Linked DNA regions of Homo sapiens: region 2 is linked to region 1. Evidence: promoter capture Hi-C in human tissues and cell types (Jung and others, 2019). All regions are on one chromosome and are shown on one strand. The core of a region is centred on a gene start or on the middle of the fragment in contact, and the rest is flanking DNA. Distances in the headings are between cores, read along the strand shown.

Region 1 (5,494 bases), core at 164-2,663:
GATTGTCTTCCCTCGCCCAGAACAAACAGGATGAAGTACAACTCTCAACTGTCTCCAAGAGTTGTTTTCTCTTCCAAGCACCATACATTCATTCAACAAAACATTTATTCAGTGAGCACCTATGTGTCAAGCACTGTGCCAGGGTAGAGCATAAGTGTACAACACAAAATAAAATCTCCAAAGGAAATGGATTTAAACTTTTTAACAAAAGGAATTTGGGTCAGGCATCAGAGGAAACTTACTGACCGTGAGGGGCGTTAGACACAGGCATGGGAGACTGAGGGAGCTTGTGCAATCTCCTCCGCTGGAGGTCTATAAAGATAGTCTAGGGCTGGAACAATCCCACCTAGAGGCAGGGGGAAGGACCAAATGACCTCACAACATCTCTGGGTCTGCTTCGTCATCCACAAGGCAATTCCCCTGAGGCCAGCGGCAACTCCCTCTTCCCCCTACCCATCAGAGGCACTTACCACTGAGCTCTTCTCAAGTAGGCTTTTATGTAAGTGTCATCAAGCTTCACTGCATTTGTGCAGTCTTCTATTGCATCATCTAGTTTCCTAAGCTTCAGGAGAGAGAGAGCAATCATACTTCACACCTTTGGTGACTGAGGGAGCCCAGAAGCTGTGAGCATGGCTTCAAAACTCTAAGAGGATCAGTCATGCTGGCCCCTTAAATGTCATATTAAGTTCTAGTTCTTTGTCACCAGGGCTATGGACAGCAACTTCAAAATTGATTTCTCTTGTATATGATACAAGCCAGGCACATCTGTCTTCAAGGATAAACTACCTTTACCATTCCATGTTAGTGCCCAATGAAAACATGAAAATAGTAAGGCTGGTTCCTGCCCTCCTTTTTTCCAGAGGTCACCTGCAGGGATCAGAAATCACTCTGATTTTTAACTGCTAGAATTCTGCAAGGGCAAGGAGTCTACTTTTTGTTTCTGATGTTGGGTAGGGCCACAAAAGCACTCAGGCCATTTTCAACCATGCATGGTGACCATCAATTACACTGGAGAAAAACAAGCTTGCCTCATACTCTTCCTCCAAATCACTCCTAAAAAATAAATGATCACTTGCATAAGCAAAACAACAAAAAAGCAACAGTAGGTGCTTAAGATTATCCCACAGACCCTAGCCATTCTCTTACTGGAGGAAAGGGACCTTAATGAACAGGTGAGAATATCCTTGCAAATTGTCCAACTGCCCTCAAATTCCATAGAGATGACAAAAGCTTGCCTCTTGGAAGGGAGTTCCTAACAAACTATTAACCATAACAACTTTCCCTCTTTCATCTTGCTTACCCTCACTAGGCAGATTTCCCAAGACCCTTTGATGTCCCTTAAAAATATTTCTATAGGCCCCAAGATCTAGATCAAGAGCTTACCTTGGAATTAACCGTACCCCGATTACAGTAGAGTTTAGCATTTGTTTTTATATTGTTGGGGTCTATCCCCAGGGCTTCTGTGTACAGTTCATATGCTAGTTTGTAATTTCCTTCCTTAAATGCTTTATTCCCATCTTCTTTCTTTGCTTTGAGTGCTTTGGCATTCTACAGAAAAAAGCAAGGGGAGGATCGGTTCATATCCACAAAGCCTCAGACCATTGCACAGAGAGGCCAGACTCTATTTTCAAGTTCTTTGCTTCCAGCAGTTCAGCATCACAGAGCCCCGCCAACCCCCAATCTGGGCTATCTGTTGCTCATTTGAGCTTCCTACAGAGTGGACAGGAAAAGAGTTACCAAAAATACCAATGAGACCTATGTTACTGGGTCTGCCTTCACTTCTCAGGACAAGTATTACTATCTATCTTCACTGAGGGGAAAAACAAAACAAAAAAACCCTCTTAGATATTAAAGGCATCCGACCCTATATGATCACATCTACCTTTAGGTAAATACAAGTAGTCCTGAAACCATTTCTAATAAAGACCAAGCATCCTTGCAAAGCAGGAGGAAAAGCTATCACATTCCTTGTGATTCTAAAACCTTCCACTCTAGCCATCTTAAAGGTCCCAAAAGGAAGCTCTTTCCCAGTTAGGTCTGGTGACTAGAACTTACTCTGCAGGCAATGCAGGCCTTCTCGTGGTCAGGAGCCATCCTGAGAGCCTGTACGAAAAACTGAACTGCCTTCTCAATACAATCTTCGTAATAAAGGCAAAGACCTCGTACATACAGAGCATCTGCATTGGTGGAATCCATTCGTAGAATGTCACTGCAATAGTCAGAAAAGGGCACATTGAGCTGTGCTTTAGAATGTCCCCACCATTACTACCATTTGTGGCCAGTTTTCCTCCTTGACCATGTGTCTAGCATTCAAAATATCCAAAGGTAGACAGATTCCCAAGAACTGTTCCCAAACTTTCCCCAAATAAACCACCTATAATTATCTTTAATACACATCTTGTGTCTTACAATCCTTATTAAACTAGAACAGGGTTTGGCAAACTACAGCCCACAGGGCCAAATCCTTTCTGCCACTGGTTTTTGTAAATAAAACACTATTCAAACAGCCACACCCATTGGTTCATCTATTATCTAGGGCAACCTTTGCACTGCAATGGCAGAGTTGAGTTAGTTGCAACAGAGACCCTGTGGCCTGCAAAGGCTAAAATCTGGCCCTTTGCAGAAAGTGTGCCAACCAGTGGAGTAGAAGGAAAAGGACTACCTTAAACAAACAAACAAAACCACAAAAACACAATCTGTTCTTTCATATATAGCTCAAGTACCTGCTATACTACTATACTCCTGTATACCCTACGGGTTTTCAAAGCTGGTCTAATCTTTGACTTTAAGTCCCAAGAGGGTCTGATCAGCCCTAGCTGGCCTACTCTGGGGACCATATCCTGTGGTGAAGCTGCCGGACACCATCAGTCCAATGGTATCTGGCATTTTAATGTCCAGCTAGCCTGACTGCATACCTAGCCACAGACTGTGCTTCTGGATAACGACCCAGCATTGCTAAACATTCTGCCTTGAGGATTTTGAAGCGATGGCAGGCAGGGGCAAATTCTAGGGCACGGTCCATGCAGAAAACAACCTGTAGGGAAGAAGAAAACAAATAAGGCTCTTCATCAGGGACTCCAGAAACATCTTCACTTTAGTTTAGTCACAGGTAACAGACTCAAAACTCAATGAGGTCTTTGGGTCCACTTCTAAGTAATATCAAAGTTTAAAAACATACCTAATTCATTAAATAAAAGCACTGAAATGAGGACAGCAAAGGCTCCAGATGATAATGAGGACAGTAAACATTTACTGGGTACTTTCATATATGAACCCATTTAATCCTCACAAGAATTTTATGAAATAGGCAATATTATCACTTTTTTTTTTTTTTTTGAGATGGAGTCTCACTCTGTCACCCAGGCTGGAGTGCAGTGGCAGGATCTTGGCTCACTGCCACCTCTGCCTCCTGGGTTCACGCCATTCTCCTGCCTCAGCCTCCCGAGTAGCTGGGACTACAGGCGCCCGCCACCACGCCCAAGCTAATTTTTTTTTGTATTTTTAGTAAACACAGGGTTTCACCATGTTAGCCATGATGGTCTTGATCCTCGTGATCCGTCCTCCTCAGCCTCCCGAAGTGCTAGGATTACAGGCGTGAGCCACCACACCCAGCCTTAAAATAGTTATTTTAAATGGCTCTAAATAGGCTACATCAGATTACTATTCCCAACATGCCACTATACAAACCACAAGCCAAGGAGCAATCACACACACAAAAAGGTGGGGATTAATTTACTCTTTCAGCCTCATAAAGCATCTCCATATATTCTGTTTTTCTCTTTTTACTAGTTTGTCCTCTGAGCTTTCAGTTTTGGTTTAGCTGCTATTTATTCCTGGGAGAGCCTTGCTGAATCACATTCACGCCGAGAATAAATGAACCGAAGGACAAATCTGGAGTTAAGGGACACCTATTCCCTCTAAGAATTTGGCCATGGGGGTCAGGAAGAGATAAACTCTGAAAACTTACAAGCAGAAAAATTCAAATTCCATCCACAGGAGACTGGTTAGTTAACATGGACATTCATATAATGGAATACTATATAGTTCTAAAATAGAATGAAGAAGCTCTTCATGTACTAATATGGAAAGACTTCCAAGAGCTACTCAGTGATTTTTTTTTAAAGGTGCAGACCTGCCATAAAGCATACTACCTTTCACGCTAAATAAAGGGAGAAAATCAAGGATCTTTATTTTATATAAGTACAACAAAACTAAGGAAGAAAATAGAAGACATAAGAACAGTGGTTAGCTTAGGGGAGTGAGAACTGGGCGGAGAGAGGACAAGTTTGAGGGGACACTCATCACTGAATATTTTTCATACTTTCTAACTTTTGTTTGTTTTGTTTTTGAGATGGGGTCTTGCTCTGCTGTTCAGGCTGGAGTATCAGTGGCACAATCATGGCTCACTGCAGCCTCGACTTCCCAGACTCCAGTGATTCTCCTGCCTCAGCCTCATGAGTAGTTGGGACTGCAGGCACACGTCACCACACTCAGCTAAAATTTTAAATTATCTGTAGAGACAGGGTCTCAATAAGTTGCCCAGGTTGGTCTCGAACTCCTCGCCTCAAGTGATCCTCCTGCCTTGGCCTCCCAAAGTGCTGGGATTACAAGCATAAGCCACTGCATCTGGCAACACTTTCTAGTTTTTGAACCATGAATAGCACCTATTCCAAAACTGAAATTTAAAATATGAGCAAGTCAGTAAACACTACCACATTACCAGCTGTTTCACTGAGAAGACTTTCTGCAGTGTCACACAGCAGTGACAGGAATGCCTCTCCTTCAGTGGCACAGGTTTACTGTCCTGAAAGTTTTCTGTTTTTTTGTTTTTTGTTTTTTTTGAGATGGAGTTTCGTTCTTGTTGCCCAGGCTGCAGTGCAATGGCATGATCTTGGCTCACTGCAACCTCTGCCTCCCGGGTTCAAGCAATTCTCCTGCCTTTGCCCTCTGAGTAGCTGGGATTACAGACATGCGCCACCAGGCCTGGCTAATTTTTTGTATTTTTAGTAAAGACAGGGTTTCTCCATGTTGGTCAGGCTGGTCTCTAACTCCCGACCTCAGGTGATCCGCCCACCTCGGCCTCCCAAAGTGCTGGGATTACAGCCATGAGCCACCGCACTCGGCATGTCCTGAAAGTTCTAAGGACAATATGAAAACTTAAGCATTATGTAGGTAGAGTTGTGCTAACTGTCCTGCCCCCCCAGATGGAAAAGGAATGAGGGGGCAGGAAAAAGTCAGTCAAAATGTCAGCAGCCACACCCTGTTGCCTTCACAAGGACCCCGTTTTATGCAGAGCTGGTTCTGCTAATCATGGGGATCGTCAGTGCTTCACTTCCCACCCCCCAACCTCCCCATGACTAGGGACAGCTGCAGGCAAAGAAGATCTTTTGTTTCTTCCAAGTTCATCTGTTTCCCCTGCCAGGATCATAATTCTTCATTTGTGACATCACCGTGAGCTACAGTGGGGGGGCTGGGATGTCACAAACAGAGGATT
Region 2 (5,304 bases), core at 1,356-3,855, 200 kb before region 1:
CACTGTCCCATCTCTCCAAATAAACAGTCCTTCTGTAGACTAGTCAATTGACCCATCTCACTCTAAGGTGGCTCCAGGATGGGAAAAAGGTTGGCAGCCCTAGCCCGACCTTTTTCGTTCCTATGCACTGCATTCTCAAAGCCTCGGCCCTGGCAGCCCAAACAGAGGCTCCAGAGGGAATGGGGTGGAGCCAGGGTGCAAGGGAGGGGTGGAGTGGGGGTGGGAGGGCTCAAGTCACCCAAGCTGGGGCTTGATCTAGCAAGAAATGACTAACTGGGTCCTACCTTCTCCTCCTCCCCCGCATCCCCCAGTCCAGTCAGTGGCCAGTTTTCACCAAGCACCTCCTAGCAGTACTTCCTCAGTATTATCTTTTCATCACAGCCACAAACCAGATTAGCTAAACTAATCATGTAGCCAACATAATTACAATGCCCTCCCCTCCTCCACCTTGGCACAGAGAAGAGGGAAAGCAGGTTATTTTTGCCCAAACTCCCTGCTCCTGTTGCTCCCCAGAGGTGCAGAATCCCATCCCCCGGCAGAAAAGGATCTGAGTTCCCACACTGACTTCCCCCTAGCACAGGGCTGAGCGTGATCCCCACCCAGGATAAAGGGGCTGAGTCTGGGCCCCCAGCCTCACTCCCCCATCTACAACAAAGAAAGAGGTGGTAGACTCTTCCCCTCCAAGCACTCTCGATCCCCGCCCCCCACAATCTTTCTCCCACCCCCAGGACTGAGAGAGAACCCAACTGTTGTATTCTCTCTCTGTTCCCCAACGAGGCTGGGCTCCAAATCCTGCAAAAAGACCACATTTCAGATTTTTTTTTTAAACCGGGGTACAAACCCTGATCAAGATCCCCAATTCTGGGTGGGGGGGGGCGGTCTCAGGAAATTGGGAGCAGGGAAGGCAGGGGGCCCGATGCAGCTCTGCCTGAGAGAGTCTAGCATTGAAGAAACCTTCCCCCAAAAAGCCTTCCTGCGGTCTCACTTTCCCTGTCAAATTCTTTCAGGAAAGCGGGTGGGAAAGGTCTGTGCAGGCCTCCAGAAAGCATGCACCTTCACAATTCAGAAATCAAATGGAAGGCAAGTCCCACAGCCTCATGCGCTTCTGCCTCAATAACCAGCCAGCTAAGTAATGTGGGGGATGGGGTAGAGGCAAAAAAAAAAAGACAAGAACAACCACTCCCCCCACCTTCCTCAGTTTGGCCCAGCCCTGCCCCACCCCCATTCCTGGGGAGGGGGCAGAGCTTGAGAGACAACCACTTACGCAGGCCTTGTCTGAGGGGGTGTGGTGGTCCCAGGAGGCAGGAAGAGAAGGAAGAAGCTGCTTCCCCTCTCAGCACTTTCCACCCCCCACCCCGGCCCCTACCTCAGGCCCCTGGGGCCCAGCGAACAGGATGAATGTGGGGGCAGGGAAGACAGGGTCGGAGCCCAGGCACCGGCCCAGGTTCAGCCAGGGGCCGGCTGGGGGAAGGGGTTTTGCACCAGGAAGGACCCCCTAAGCCTAAAGGAAGTTTTGGGCAAGGAGACGGGAAAACCCCCAGATAAAGCTGCTGTGAATACTTCCTCCTGCAAAGTTTGTTTTGGGTGATTTTTTCCAACAATAAGAGGTTAGAGAAGACGGGTCCTGTTCCCCTACCAACACTCTGGCAGCCACAGCTACTGGAAACTGGGCCAGGTGACCCTGAATTCTTCATCCGTGCACAGACCCCACCCCCCAGACCCCAGGGCGAGCCACGGGTGCCAGACACCAGCTGGACACTGAGCCGAGCCCTGCACCCCCCAGTCACTCCATCCCACCTCCGCTGAAGAAGCCAGAGCCGGGCTCCCACCGGCGTGGAGGGAGGCGCCGCAGGTAGTATCGACGAGGCTCTGGGAGCTGGAGGGCAGGGCCTCTGGACTCCGTGCGCTCACCTGCTCGGCAGGTGGGGCCAGAGTCGCTGGGAAAATGTGCGCTCGGCCCCCACAGTTGGGCAAGCTGGGCGCAAACAATAGGGCCCCACCCAGGCCTGGGGGAGTAGGGAGGGAGGGAAAGCGAGGATGACGCGTGGGGTGGGGTGAGGGTGGCCCCAAAGAGACCAGCGGCAGCAAGTTCCCCAAACGGTAAATTCCTGACTGCAGCGTGAGCCCTGGGACGCAGTCGAAGCAGAGCAAAGTCTCCCCCGCCAGCCCAGGGCGAGAGTCAGGGACGCGGCGTCGGGCGAGCTGCGCGGGCCCCGGGGGAGGCGCGACCCCGGAGGCACCTGTCCGGATCCCTCCCCGCCTTGCTCAGATCTCTGGTTCGCGGAGCTCCGAGGCGCGCTCGGCCCGAACCGCGCGACCCCCAAGTCGCCGCGCCCAGGACCCCAGCGCGCCCCCTGCCGCCGGTGCAGGGTGGCGCTCGATGGCACCGGCCCTCACCTGCCCAGGGACGGCTGGGACCGGCCCCGCGGCCGCTCGCCACCCCTCTGTCCCCAACGATACCTGCGCCCCCGATAGCCCGCACCTGAGTATGGGGCCTGACCGGGCCGGGTCGGGGTCGGGCCGGGGTGGGAGCCGGCGCGGACAGCGAACTGAGCTCGGCGTGGTCGGGCGGCGGCTGCTCCGGACTCTGGCCAAGGCAGCAACTCAGTAACCGAACAAAAGGCGAAGAGACCTGACAGCCAAGCCACGCCCCTCGCCACCTCGAAGCTCCGCCCCTGGGGGAGACGCCCACCCTCTGGTGCGAGCTCACTGGCTATCTCGCCTGACTGTCCCGTGGAGGGGCGGAGCCTCGCCTCCAGTCCTCTTCCACGGCCGCCTCTGTTTATCCGCTTGCCATTGGCCCCGGGGACTGCCAGTCGGCTCTAGGGATGGACTCTAACTTGAGGTCTCATCCTAACATTGCATCTATTGGCAGATAGAAAGTTACTTCCTCCTGATTGGACAAGGCTCTGTCAGTAAGACTAAGGAAAAAACCAATGGAAGGGATGGGGTGTGTCTTGCCCCACCCTTGCTCTGAGCAGGTGAGACTCATTACTCTCCCCTTCCCCCTACCTGTCCAACAGGTAAGTCATAGGGATACCAAGGGAAGGGACAGACGCCTTCACCGGCCAGCCAACTCAGCGTCAGGCATGATGCTTCTTTGGGCTTATTCATCCTTGCCCCAAAGTAGTAATCACATATTTGTATAGCATTTCATAGGCTTTGTGCTGGGGTGGGATTTTTTTCCCGAAAGATGGAGTACTCCTGGGATTTAGAATTAGAAGGCCAGGTTTGGTCTTCTCCCACTTGGTATGATTTTAGGCAAGTTACTTCACCCTGTTTCTCCTCTTCTGTAAACTGGATACATTAGCCATATCTACCTCACTGGAGTATGTGGGGATTAAATGAGGTCAGGTTTGTGAAAGCACTCAGAAACTGCTAAAGGTTAGAAATTTAAATTAACGGTATGTTTTTTTTTAATTATTGTGACAGCTCTGAAAAATAGTTAGGATGAGAAAACGACCCTCATTGTAAAGATGAAGAAACCGAAGTTCAGAGAAGTCACAAAACTACAAAGTGGCACACCCCAAGCTAGAACCTCCTTCCTCTCATTTGAAGGACCATCAAACCAGCTGTTCCCCTCATGGAAGAGGAGCATAGACATAAAATGTCAAGGCAATGGGGAAGGGGCAGAGAAAAGGCACAAACACTTGGAGGAGAGACAGAACAATTAATTGGCACAAAAATACAGTATTGGTGTCAGGAGGCTTTGGTGGGCTTGGAAACATCAAGCAGCAGATCTGAAGGAAATCCAGCCCTGGCATGAAAGAAACGGGGCAGGCCAGGCGCAGTGGCTCACTCCTGTAATCTCAGCATTTTGGGAGGCAAAGGCGGGTGGATCACCTGAGGTCGGGAGTTCAACACCAGCCTGGCCAATATGGTGAAGCCCCATCTCTACAAAAAATACAAAAAGTTAGCCGAGCGTGGTGGCGGGCAACTATAATCCCAGCTGCCTGGGAGACTGAGGCAGGAGAATTGCTTGAACCTGGGAGGCGGAGGTTGCAGTGAGCCGAGACCATGTCACTGCACTCCAGCCTGGGCATGACAGAGCGAGACTCCATCTCAAACAAAAAAAAAAAAAAGAAAAGAAAAAAATAAACCGGGCAGCACACCCCTCTGCGATAGGAGAGCCTGGGGTAGAGATCAGAGAGAACTTCTCGGCCAGGCGTGGTGGCTCATGCCTGTAATCCCAGCAATTTGGGAGGCCAAGGTGGGCAGATCACTTGAGGTCAGGAGTTCGAGACCAGCCTGGCCGACATGGTGAAACCCCATCTCTACTGAAAATACAGAAATTAGCCAGGCATGGCAGCGGGCACCTGTAATGCCAGCTACTCGGGAGGCTGAGGCAGGAGAATGGCGTGAACCCGGGAGGCAGAGGTTGCAGTGAGCTGAGATCATGCCATTGCACTCCAGCCTGGGTGACAGAGTGAGACTCTGTCTCAAAAAAATAAAAAGGACTTCTCACAGGCAGCTTAAGAAGACAAGGGCACTTCCTTTCTGTGGTTGATGACATGAATGCTGCTCGTGGCTGTATGGTGTGCCAAGGGCCCTACAAACATTCCTTCATTCAACACTTGAGTATTCATTGTCAACTGTATGTTAGGCACTGGTGAACACAGAAAATAAAACCTGGTGACACAGGAAATAAAAATGATCCCAACCTTCAAAGAGCTCATAGAAGGATAAGCAGAAGCAGCGTGTGTGGGTGGGTTTTGGAGGAGTGGTGGTTTAGAAAAGGGTCCCCCATCAACAAAGCTCTACAGCCCCAAAGCTAGCACACAGGATGGGCTGGATGAAGGTACCTTAGCAGCAACCTTGACCACTTTCCCCACCAGAGAAAAGAATGGTAGCTGAACATTCTCCCTTCTGAAGTTGCGCCATCCAAAAGCAGGGCCAGGGAGATACGGACATCCCTGAACTAGTGGCCATCCCATAACCAGGGCCACCGCCCTTTGCCTGTTTCCTCAACTCTCCATCCTCCAGCTTACCTCCCTATCTTTATCCCTGCCTTACCCCTGCCCCATCCACCTGCTTGTCACCCTGTCACATAGAGCTGTAGCCAGGCCACAGCTGGGGAAGGAATGGGCTCACAATCCTGGACTGCTGCAGCTGCCAGGGTTTCATTTCTTCCCCCTTCTGCCCACCTCCCACCTCCACACATGCACACACACATACGTCCCAGCTCCAAGCCTGGCCTGACTCCTTCCTATTTCTCCTGACCTCAGCAAAGAGGCAGGGTAGGGCTGGTTGACTGCAGAGAGGGGTGGAGGAGCCCATGTGGGTGGAGGAGCAGAAATAAGGTTT

What was found. The method cuts DNA at HindIII sites, captures the fragments that hold promoters and counts their contacts. A contact is called where the count stands out against the background at its distance.
Region 2: a contact is called between the fragment with the promoter of JUP here and a fragment that was not itself captured in region 1, in 2 of the 25 tissues and cell types used here (adrenal gland and mesenchymal stem cells).

Annotation. Positions count from the first base shown.
Region 1 is chr17:41,987,349-41,992,842 of GRCh38, forward strand. DNAJC7 (DnaJ heat shock protein family (Hsp40) member C7) reads right to left here. Exons shown (of 14, transcript NM_003315.4): 6 at 2,916-3,034; 7 at 2,056-2,209; 8 at 1,384-1,548; 9 at 471-562. Among named protein-coding and RNA genes, the nearest start is that of CNP, 23 kb to the left of the region's middle. RefSeq lists enhancers at 596-1,096, 1,097-1,597. The HindIII fragment of the contact is 3,975 bases long and covers 1-3,401 here.
Region 2 is chr17:41,784,106-41,789,409 of GRCh38, forward strand. JUP (junction plakoglobin) reads right to left here and starts at 2,606. Exons shown (of 14, transcript NM_002230.4): 1 at 2,483-2,606. RefSeq lists silencers at 1,898-2,110, 2,275-2,574. The HindIII fragment of the contact is 40,774 bases long and covers 1-5,304 here.